Regions from separate parts of the Homo sapiens genome. Here regions 1 and 3 are each linked to region 2. The links are contacts of gene promoters, found by promoter capture Hi-C in blood cells and fetal thymus (Javierre and others, 2016). All regions are on one chromosome and are shown on one strand. Each heading gives the region's core, a stretch centred on a gene start or on the middle of the fragment in contact. The rest is flanking DNA. Distances are from core to core; before and after follow the strand shown.

Region 1 (3,677 bases), core at 412-2,911, 1.6 Mb before region 2:
AGGTACTGTGGCCGTATGCAATCCACTGCATGTGTAGCCTACTTAAAAAAGGTGAAGAAAAGTTATCCACATTAAAAAAAATTGTAGGAAGGATTTGTAGCAGATTTCCCTTAAAATGAGGCTAGTTTCATGCATGTACATTTTGATTTATTAATGAACTGCTTGTCAGTTTTAGGGATGGGGAGGGGGTACCATTGCCAAATGAAAATCAGAATGATGGACCAGGCGCAGTGACTCATGCCTGTGTAATCCCAGCACTTTGGGAGGCTGGGGTGGGTGGATCATCTGAGCTCAGGAACTCGAGACCAGTGTAACCAACATGGTGAAACCCAGTCTCTACTAAAAATACAAAATTAGCTGGGCGTGGTGGCGCCTGCTTGTAATCCCAGCTATTTGGGAGGCTGAGGCACGAGAATTGCTTGAACCTGGGAGGCGGAGGTTGCAGTGAGCTGAGATCGCACCATTGCACTCCAACCTGGGCAACAAGAGTGGAACTCCGCTCCATCTAAAAAAAAAAAAAAAGAAAAGAAAAGAAAATAGAAAGATGGTAAGGTATGATGAGCTAGCTCTAAAATGTTAATGTAAAAATCAAATTTGGGGGGAAAATATGATTTCTTGGGGAAATATGATTATCTTTATGAATATTTGATTGACTTTTTCCCTAGGAGCATCTCTCTTATCACCTAAAGGGAAGTCATATTGAAAAAAAAAAAAAAAGCTACCGAAAGAGTAGTTTGAGGAGCAGCCTCACTTTTGTTTGTGGACAGTGCATGTGAGAGCATGCTATTCTCTCCTCCAGCTTGCTGTTTGCCAAAAATTACTTTTTGTTCAGAGGAGAGAAGGATATTGAGTGCAGATTCAAAACATGCAGGAGACAACATGATGAGCAGGGAGTTATTGCATCACCTCTTTGATGGATATGCCCTTGTCTTGGAGAAGCCATTCCCAAACATTTGCCTGCCTGTGAGTCCACCTGGCTGACTTTGGGATTTGGTCATTGTTATTTTGAAATGTTCTGTCAGTTGGTGTTAGGAATTTAGGTTCAGAGAGGAAATACATCAGGATGAGAGATGTAAAGAAAAATAAACCACAATGCAAAGGTACTGAAAATCTCAGCTGTGAGCTTGGGCATCAGCGTCAATTGCACTGTTGACCAAGCTGCACACTAGGAGGACTGAACCCGAGCAATACGAAACGCGTTAAAGAGATATTGTCTTTCTCTTCTAGTTACTTACAGTGCACTACTTCCAATATGTCCCAGGAGTCATAGAATTCAGTAGCCATACAAACTTTTCAGAAAAAAAAAATGTACAAAGAGATTGTAGAAAGGGTGCTGAACTTAAGAGTCTGGACAGTGAGCTTAAGCTTAGGTTTGGTGCTGTGCTGTTTGCATTATTGTGGGTGTTTCATTTTACTTTTTTGAATTTTGGTTTCTTTGTTTATATAATGGGAATAATTCGGTGTATCTTGTTTCATAAGGCTCATGTGAAACTCAAAAATAACATGAAAGCACACTGTAAACTGTAATTATTACTATATAATAATATTATTATCACCATTTTGAAGGCAAAGTGGTTTTCCTTGAATATTTTTCTATAAGAACATGGCAAATATTTTTTGATGCATTAACATATTATTACAATACCCCTAAATCTGAAATCTCCATTCTGAGCCCTGTTTTACTTTTTGAGTTACTCAGGTAAACTGGATAATTGTTTCCCCTTTCCCTGAGATAGCAGGATGGCTGCCTCTCTTGGCTTTTGTCTGGTGGACTTGGTTAACATGACAGATTGATATGCAGTAGTGTACTTGAGTTAAGTGGATTCCGTATGCCTGATGCATGGAGAAACTGGTATGGAGTAAAAGGGTCAAGTGGCCATAAGGAGTAGTGAGATGGATCAGCCCCTTGATAATTCTGGGTAGACTTGCCCCTGGAGTATGTTTCTATTAATAACTGTAAGCTTACACATCGTCCACCCCTATGTGGGACCTCCTCTGCTGGGAACTTCTAGGGCAACGCTGGGGGCAGCCAGCAATGGATGTTTGTAGAATGAAGTCAAACTTTGTTGCTCTTGAGAAATTGATAGTCTAGGTAGGAAGATTAAGCAATTGAGAATCACTGCAAAGCAGTGGATAATAGAATATAATCTGGACCTTCAAGTTTCCAGGAGATATTGAATGACACAGTTAAATCAGAGAAGTCCTCCTGGAGGAGTTGAGCTGGGGGTCTAGATGGAAATGTGAGAGGCATTTTGAGTACACAAAAGCTCTCCACTTTCACATTTTGATATCATCACTCTCTCAAGGTAGGAATTTGATTTTTCCCAACCTGCAACTATATAAAGGATGCAGCATATTTTTTCTGCATGGTCTGGAGTCTAGACCCCAAATTATGGAGAAACATCGGGATTGAATAGTTCATTTTAAAGTGTCACATTTGTTATAAGGCAGGGAGCTTTTGCACTCTCGCTCACTCTCACTCTTTCTCTGCAGTCAGATTCTTTACTCACTTGTTTTTCCCCCGAGCATGTCTCCGGACTAGGCAGAGAAATGACCAACCTTGCATTCTGAGTTAATGATGTCAGCAGGTTGGTCATTCCCTTTTATATAGTCACATTCATATAGACTATGAAGCAAGTCTTTGTAATGTAAATCAGAAATTCCTTTTTATGTAAACCAGAAAATCCCTTAAAAGTTTGGATAGTTCCCCATATCTACAGTAGTCTATTTTAATGCAGGCTAAGGCTGTAGAAATTATTTGCAGCAGGAGTTATCTCAGAAATATTCAGCTCATGATATTTGGTTAAATTGGTTAGTTGAATTTTTTCTGCCAGAGATATGTAATTGGTAACTGATCTTAACTTTGCAGGCAACTTACTGTCAGAATGTTTCCATAATAGTTTTCTGCTGTTTATGTAACAATAGTCCGAGGGGGAGGAGCTTGATAATTATTTACCCTATTTTATCAGTGTATCCCAGGGAGTTAATACAATCCTTTTGGGCCCAATATTTTAGATTAGTTATGTCCTTGTCCTCAATTAGCTAGATAATTGCATTCTTTTGAGGTAGCTATATTGGTCCAGGCTTAATTACATCTGTAAATGGTTTGGTAGTATTGAAATGATACAGCTCTGTTTAGCAATAGTGCAAGATTTGTGGGGGAAATAATGTAAAAATAATACAAAATTTTGTTGATATCATTTTTATCTTGCACTACTCCCCTTTCCCCACAAGTATGTACCATCCTTCTTTCTATTCTTTAAACATGCTGAACTCATTCTTGTTTTCTCTCTGTGGGAAACACTTTTTTGCTGGAGAGCTGATACTATGTTTATTTCTTGTCTCCTTTCCCCTCCCCCAAATGGAGGCCTCATGAAAGCCTATACATTTTGTTTACGGCTGTATCCTCAGCCTCTAGACTAGTTTCCACATTTTTAATGGAACTCACTCTTGTTTTCTCTCTGTGTGAAACACTTTTTTGCTGGAGAGCTGATACTATGTTTATTTCTTGTCTCCTTTCCCCTCCCACAAATGGAGGCCTCATGAAAGCCTATACATTTTGTTTACAGCCATATCCTCAGCCTCTAGACCAGTTTCCACATTTTAAATGGATTTTTTGGTTCTTGAAATATATTTGTTGAATGAATGAGTATATTTGGGAAACAAAAAAGATTCAA
Region 2 (3,989 bases), core at 430-2,929:
CTGTATTTTATTTTAACAATCTAAGAAAGGGAGGTCACAGAATGGGAATCAAGAACTTAGAGGAGTTCAGACTATAAAACGAAGAAATACTACAAGTCATGTATTTGTTTGTTTTATAGGCTGAACTCCTACACCAGAAGTTTCTGATGAACTCATGACCTCCCAAAGGAGCTCTTTTAAATCTTAGTTAGTTTATGAAACAGATTCAACTGCTGCTTTGAGTTATGGCTTTTAATAACCGTAAAAATGCAAAATCTCCCAGGAGTGGCTACAATCTTGTCAGTCATTTGTACTTTAATAATAATTAGATTCTCTTGTAAAACGACGTGCAAAGGGAAGAAGAAACAAGACGTAATTGTGCACTTCATAATTTTACCTAGAGTTCAACCTTGAAAGGTCACATATTAAGGATAGAAGTTTGTGTAATAACGAGAAAACAGAGGATATCCGTTTCTTCACATACTGGATAAACAACAATCCACGGATCCTGCTAATCATCCAACCCATATGTTGAATTGACAAGAGTATTTAATTTCCTCTTTCTGCTTTGAGAAACTAAATATCTTGACAGTCTGAGCACAGTGGCTTAAGTGGCCTTAATTCTCTGATTTCATAAGTTAATGATTAGGTTGAAGCTATAAACTATAGTCCATTCCATTTAAGACCTGGATCAAAGTTAGCTTCATCCAGCATGTTTTAGCACGTCCTTTCTGAGCTATGTTGTCAGTAGTTACCATTCAGTTCCACCATCCTGAATATTCTGCAGTTGATAAACCATTTTGTGAATTTTTTTTTTTTGCTTTCTGTGTATGTTTTTGACTCGCGTGTTTTTGCTTCGCTAATCAGATTGCGAAAGGAAACATCTCACGTTTGCATAGGACTTCACAGTTCATAAAGACCTTTCCCACCCACCACAAAAAAAGTATGACAAGTTTCCCGTCATCTTCATTTTATAGGTGTGGAAAGGGAGTCAAAGAAAAGTTAATCGATACCATTTATCTAGTTAAGCAGGCTTTGAGCAGTTCATCTCCTCCCGTCCTCAAAACGACCTTCTGAGGTGTCTCCTGCAACCCTGCTCTGAAGCTCAGAGCGAGACGGCCTCACATCCCAGGGGGCTCAGCTCTGGCGGGGCCGCCACGCGCCTCCCCGTGCCTTTGGACGGGTGAGGAGAGCTGCTGCCCCGGCGGGGACCACGTGGAGGGGCCTGGTCAGCAAGTGGCAAGGACGCGGCGCAAAGCCAGGCTTTCTAATGTACAATCCGCGGCTCTTTCGATACTGAACACCCACCTCTTCAACAAATTCGAGCGCCTGGCAGGCCCTGCACCAAGCCTAGGGTGATGGCGACCCAGGCGGGTTTTTACTCTCAAGGAGCTCAATTCTAGGGCAGGGAGAAGTAAAATTAAAAAAAAAAAAATCATAACAAACTGAAAAACACATAAATAAGCCACGTCTCTCCTCACCCCTAGCACTTAATCACAAAGGCCTGTAGAGAGTCCCGACGAGAACTTCTGAGCAGGCCCCGCTGTCAGTCCCTGAGGACAGCATGCAAGGGAGGTTGACGTCCCTGGACGAAGAAAGTGCTGGAGAAACTGGCGACCGTCCCACCTTCCCTAAGGCGAAGGCTCTGAATTCCGAAGACCGTTACTCGGCGCGGAACGCGGGCACCGCCGACGTCAAAACACCGGGCCTGGGGGCCGCGGCCTACGCGTCTCCCGGGCTTCGCGCCCCTCGCCCGATTTGATTGGATGGTGGCGGGAAGAAGGCGGGGAGACCCCCGGAGGAGGGGCGCGCAGGCCGGCCGGGGGTTCCCACGGAGGCGTCCAGGGGGCGAAGGGGCGGGAGCGGGCCTCGGAGCGTCGCGCGTGCGCAATTGGGACACAGCCGGCTGGGGACTGCTGGGAGGGCCGGACCCTGCGAGAACGGGTGGGCGTGTGCCCGGTGGGCGCGGGAGGGGCCCGGGCTGCACGAGCGCGCGTGCGCGTCGGAACTGGAGCCGCGGGAGGAGGCGGGAGCTGAGGAGGCGGCGGAGGGGGCGGGTCGCGTCGGGCGCCACGTCCGCAGCCAGAGGCCTCCGCCTCCACCACCGCCGCCACAGTCTTCCAGCTCCACATCCTGAGAGGACGCCTCTGGAGCCGCGACTGCCCGGGGTTGTGCCGGCCGCCGCTGCCGCCCAGGCCGCCTCAGCTCTCCTCTGCGCCGGCCCGCTCACTCCGCCCGGCCCCAGCCCTAGCGCTGGCCGCGACCCCGGCGGTGAGTGAGTCGGGATGCGAGGGCAGGGGCGCAGTCCCGGCTTCCTGCCCTCCTCCGTCGCCCTCTGCCGTCGGCGCCCCTGCCCCTCACCTCCCAGTGCCCGGCCTGGCTGCCCAGCGGGGCCTTGGCGAGGCCCCAGCGGGAAAGGGGGAGGGGCGGGACGAAGTTGGGGGCGGATGGAGGTTCGCTTCTGGGGCTACTCCTCCTTATACGTCGCTGACTGCCCCGCCGCGATTGGAGCTTGCGCACCCCTGGAAAGCCTCCGCCTGACTTCTTAGCATCTGGGGGTTCGGGGTTGGGGGCGGAGGAGGAAGGTGAGGGGCATCAGCAGCCTGGGAGAGGGATGCAGCGGAGGGGCTTGGGTACCGGGCTTCCTCGCCCTGCCAACTCCTGACCTGTTGCTAAACCTCCCTTTTGGGTTCAGGCACACAAGACTTTTTCCCAGTGGACACCCCCATAGCTCTTCCTGGGTAGGAAGGCTGTATCTCCACGCCTAACCTAAAGTAAAAGTGGGAATGGAGAGGGTGCTGGCCGCGCCCAGGGGTGACAGGGAGGGCTGGAGCACCCATCCGTGCCGTCACTGCCTCCCAGTCTAAATAAAAACTGCCTGCTCTGCACACGCAGCTTCAAGACCGACCCCCCAGCTCCCACTTCCAATCAGATCGCCTGTCCTAAACCCTTCTTACATAGAAATTCTGGAGCCCTTCGGGAGTGGGGGGAGTGCTGGGTGTACAACGTGGAGCGGAGGGAGGAGGTGCCAAGCTCAGTGCTAGCCACGGCGCCTCCAGGGTCATTTTCTGCCTCCTGCCACGTCACTCACTGCTAAAGAAAAAAAAAAGATTTGCTAGTGCCTAAAGGGATCAGTAGGGAGAGAAGGGGCCACCCGGAAGGGTTTAGAAACACCTAGAGAAAAGGGAAGGGTTCTTAATTTGATTTTTGCGTCCTTGTGAACACTGTGCTAATTCCAAATGAAAATATTTGCTATATGTGATTATTTGCTGTATGCTATTGTTTAGCCTTTGAAACTTCTGCTGGTGTGAGTGCCCTCAGGGGTTCCCCAGGAATATCGATACAACACCAACAGGTAAACGCGCGCGCCCGTGTGTGTGTGTGTGTGTGTGTGTGTGTGTGTGTGTGTGTGTGTGTATGTGTGTGCGCGCTCGCGCCCATGCTTAACTTTTTAAAAAGAAAGGGAGAAGTAGCCTTTGATAAACCCATATGCATCCTGTTTTGCTTTTTCCACTTTCATTTCTTTAGTCTTTGTTAGAACAGATGTACCAGAAACCAAGTTCAGTAAAAATTTGTCCATTTATAGAAAGCATCGTTAGAAATTATAACGGTTGCTACATTGGACAAATATACAGATTTCTTTGTGTGTGCATGGGTTTGATTTTTTTTTTTTTAACTACAGGAAAATCTTTACCTTTGTTTCAGTTATTCGGTATTTGCTCTTTTTCTATTTCCGGAAGATATCTCACTGGATTATATATAAACATCTTGAGAATAAGACCTTTGTATGCTTGTTCACAAGGATGCCTCAGTGCCTAATAGAATGTTTGACACATAGTAGGAATGCAAATATCTGTTGAAATAATGTGAAGATGGTTTACTGGTTCTCTGGTTTAATAGAGTATTGTAATTCTGCTTAATGTTTCATTTAAGGATAACCCTTAAAAATTGCCATTTTGACACTGTCAGTTATTACTCGTCTAAGTGGGCACTTACAAGTTTTACTGGCA
Region 3 (3,758 bases), core at 257-2,756, 1.6 Mb after region 2:
TCAAATCCGACAGGAGCTACTGTCACGAAAAGCGGGTTTGCAGCCTTGGCGGCTTTATCGCCGCCGAGGACTAGGGAGGCGGGCCAGGACATGGGGACCCGAGGACCTGAAAGACTGGAAGATGCCCGCTGCCCACCCCCGGGCCCACCTGCTCCTCCAGTCTCTCAATCTCCAGCTGGTTTTTCTCCTCCTCTTCGTCATATTCCCACTCGTACTCCCCGGGGGAGCTCTCCGCGGAGGAAGCCATGGCGTACTCATCCCCATCGCTCTCGCTCACGCCTTCCTCCTGCTGATCCCACGCTGGCCCCATGGTCTTGTATGTCGCAGCGGCCACAGCCCGCGATAACACCTTCCTCCTTGTCCTAGCCGCCTTAACCTCATCCTCCTCTCCGTCAGCCTTGGGCCCAGCCTTGGACTCAGCCTCGGGTTCTGAAGCCGAGGTTTCGGCCGCAGTCGCCATCTTGCGCTTCTAATGACTCTCGGGTCTTCCCGCGGCCGCCGAAGACCCGCTGAGGCAGAAGCTGCCCGCGGCGCGCGCCTTATCAAAAACCCGTTTTCTTGCCATTGAAAGAGAAACTGGGAACTTAGATAACAGGAAAATCTCCACATACACTAAATTCACATTATTTTATACCCTGTAAAAGCTCCCACCAGATATAAAAACTCATTATAATGGCATGCGTTCCGTCACAACTTCGGACAGAAGTTGGGTCTTTGGGCAGGAAGTGGAAGCCATAGAGGAAGTCATGGAGCGAGAGTGATGTCTGTAGTGAAGAATTTGGCGCCATCTTGAGAAGGTCAAAGTGATTCTTCGATTAAATGCCTTACTTATCGCCTAGTGTGACCTGGCGCTTGGGTTTACTCTCCCCAGCAACTGCGCCTCAAACGCAAAGAAAACTGCAGGTCCTCGGGGAAGGATCGATTTCACCATTCAAGAGAAAAATCCATTTCCCAGATTCCTCCCCTTTATGTAAACGTCTGGTACCTAGTAGACGTTAAATACACGTGAGTTTTCCGGTTTTATAAGATCACATACTGCAAACCAACAGTAAATTACATTAATACGCATTTCTTTAGAAATTCTTAATTGCTAGGCACTGACATATAAATTGAGTTTGCTGTTGTTTTAGAGAGAAAAATAGACATATTCATTTTTTTTCAATCAGGACATGGTATTCGTTTCCTTCTTAAGCTTCCCATTTTTGAGGTAGGAAAGTATTGGTGTGTGTCTCTATCTCTACCTTGCTCCCTCATTAGCAGGCTTAATGGGCAGGAATTATGTCTGTTTTGCTTTCCGTTGGATCCCCGGGTCTAGTAGAGCGCCTTGACACATAGTAGGTACTCGACACAGATGCTGGCTTCATGATGAAGCAATTGTCCTCGAATTAATACAAAAGGGAAGATTCAGACTCAGCGAGCCGGTACCATTCGTCTAGGGACACACAGCCAGGAAGGAACCGAACCAGGATTCTAACCCAGGATTACCCAAGTTCGAATTCTAATTGAACATAAGTCCTTAGCGACCTTGGACGGACTTACTAAACTGCCCTGAATCTCGGCTTCCTTAGCTGCAAAATAGGGTTAGGAAAAGTGGACTCGGTGCTCCTCTGCGCCGCATTCCCGCAGCGGGATTTGTGAAAGCGAACTTGAGCCCCACACTGCAGAAGCCCTGAGGTCCTGTCTCAACCAGAATCCAGCACCCAGGACAAGCCCTCCAGCGACTTCAGACCTTCCCGCTCCCGACCCCGCCCGCCCCCGAGAGGCGTGGTCAAGGCGGGGCCAGAAGGCGGACGCGTGCACGGAGCGGTAAAGCGCAGGCGCAAAGCTTCGGTGACGTCAGAGAGGCGCGCTCCCAGCTCGGAGCCGACTCGCAGACGCGCCCCGCCCCTCGGCGTCGCTCTGGACTGGCGCAGGCGCAAGCCGGCAAGATGGCGGCGGCTGGGGCTTTCCGTCTGAGGCGGGCGGCATCGGCTCTGCTGCTGCGGAGCCCCCGCCTGCCCGCCCGGGAGCTGTCGGCCCCGGCCCGACTCTATCACAAGAAGGTAGGGACAAAAGAGGGACGCGCGGAATGCCGACTCAGCGGAGGCCTGGGCTGGAGGGGCGGCCGCGGGGTTCTGCGCAGCTAGGACTGGGAGCTGTCCCCTCCCACGTCTTTGCCCTGACTCGCTTTCCCTTGCTGCGCAGTGAGGCTCACTGCAACTGATAAACAACAGTTACCGCTCATCGGGCGGCGACTTCCAGGGGGCCCCGCCGCTGGCCGCGACTTCGTGCGTCCCAATTTTAAATTCGCCAACAGCCCAGGAGGCAGGGTCCTGTTGGGACTTGTCTTTCTGAGTCCAGGGACAGACACACCCCCGGAGCGGGCTCCGGCTTCAGCCACTCCGCTGCCCTGGCCAGATGACCTTGGGCTAGTCACTGCGCCTCTCTGAACCTGTTTCCCCAGGTGTAAATGGGGGGCTCTCAGCTGTCCCTTACAAAGGATACTGTGCGTGGAGTCCTGGCATGGTTCCTGGCACATAGGCCCCAGCACGAGGAGACCGTTTCTGTTACTGCTTTAGGAGTGCATAGGGGAGTCAGGCTTGTAACCAACATGCGTAATGTTTTTGTTTTGTTTGGGGGGTTTTTTGGCGGGGAAGGAGGGATAGATTCATAGTCTGCAGCCCCTTGCTGTCTGGTGGCACAAAGTCCCCCAGACGTGAGACTCCCACTCGAGAAACAACTAAAGAATGCCATAAATCAACGTGGCACAAAAGGCCCCTACATTAGATACTATCCTGAGGTCCCTTTTACTTGGAGTCAAAATCCTTAGTCAGATGGGGGGAAAAGGGGACTGGAAGATCGGCGTGCTTACTACTAACCAGTAACCAAACCTCAAGGTTATTAAGGCCTTCTGTGTGCCAGTTCGAATGGATGTTTATTGTGATCTGGCTTCTGCCCTTTCTCCAAGGGCTTCTTCACTCCTCCCCCTCCCGGGGGTGTGTTTTGTTGAGGGTACACCCTGAAGAAACTTGGACTAGCAGCCTTTCAGCAGCCAGGGTGCGCTGCTGCACCAGGGTGATGACAGGCTGTGAAATACGGTAATGGCACTGTTTTTATTTTAAAAGACACATAAACGTACACATTCCATAGCATTGTTCCCTGTGTAACAGTCACCTTAAGGCTTCTAAGAAAGCTTTCCCTCCCTGGGCCATGGTTATTTTTAGAATTTTTAAATAGTAATCATCCTTTGAGGATGGATTTTATTTGAAAATAACAAAACTGCTGTTTGAGCCCAAGTCTGGTGATGTAGGTGGGTGAAAGTCAAGTATTTTTGTAAAAATCCTATGGAACTAAGACATGATTTCACTGATTTTTTTTTCTTCTAGGTATCTCAAATCTGTGAAGTATTGTAGAGGAGACACAAAAGGAATTGGGGGTCACAAATGGTTCTCATTGACATGAGTGTAGACCTTTCTACTCAGGTGAAATTTGGTATTTAGTGATTGCCTGCCAGGTTCAAGATGCTGACCGAGGAGCTTACCATCAAACCAGAGACCAGTACCAATAGAGAGTGAACATGATTTATCTTAACCCTCTCATTTTAGGTTGTTGATCATTATGAAAATCCTAGAAACGTGGGGTCCCTTGACAAGACATCTAAAAATGTTGGAACTGGACTGGTGGGGGCTCCAGCATGTGGTGACGTAATGAAATTACAGGTATGGCTAGTCTTTTTTAATAGTGATAACAATAATCCCTTTAAGTTTACAAAGCACTTG

The links. The method cuts DNA at HindIII sites, captures the fragments that hold promoters and counts their contacts. A CHiCAGO score of 5 or more calls a contact.
Region 1: a fragment that was not itself captured here is called in contact with the fragment with the promoter of TMEM263-DT in region 2 in 1 of 17 cell types (fetal thymus); the score reaches 5.1 in fetal thymus.
Region 3: a fragment that was not itself captured here is called in contact with the fragment with the promoter of TMEM263-DT in region 2 in 1 of 17 cell types (naive CD4 T cells); the score reaches 6.8 in naive CD4 T cells.

What each region holds. Positions count from the first base shown.
Region 1 is chr12:105,332,229-105,335,905 of GRCh38, forward strand. All of the region lies in intron 1 of C12orf75 (chromosome 12 open reading frame 75), which reads left to right. Among named protein-coding and RNA genes, the nearest start is that of C12orf75, 3.4 kb to the left of the region's middle. RefSeq lists an enhancer at 1-88. The HindIII fragment of the contact is 596 bases long and covers 1,364-1,959 here.
Region 2 is chr12:106,953,816-106,957,804 of GRCh38, forward strand. It overlaps TMEM263-DT (TMEM263 divergent transcript), which reads right to left and starts at 1,680. Exons shown (of 1, transcript NR_185933.1): 1 at 1-1,680. TMEM263 (transmembrane protein 263) reads left to right here and starts at 2,092. Exons shown (of 4, transcript NM_152261.4): 1 at 2,092-2,250; 2 at 3,267-3,334. RefSeq lists a silencer at 1,720-2,479 and enhancers at 1,756-2,050, 2,980-3,039. The HindIII fragment of the contact is 6,686 bases long and covers 1-3,989 here.
Region 3 is chr12:108,560,695-108,564,452 of GRCh38, forward strand. It overlaps SART3 (spliceosome associated factor 3, U4/U6 recycling protein), which reads right to left and starts at 479. Exons shown (of 19, transcript NM_014706.4): 1 at 149-479. The coding sequence starts at 460. ISCU (iron-sulfur cluster assembly enzyme) reads left to right here and starts at 1,902. Exons shown (of 5, transcript NM_213595.4): 1 at 1,902-2,042; 2 at 3,585-3,698. The coding sequence starts at 1,929. RefSeq lists enhancers at 558-617, 628-727, 1,582-1,641, 1,712-1,791, 2,322-2,391 and silencers at 2,002-2,121, 3,082-3,131. The HindIII fragment of the contact is 633 bases long and covers 1,191-1,823 here.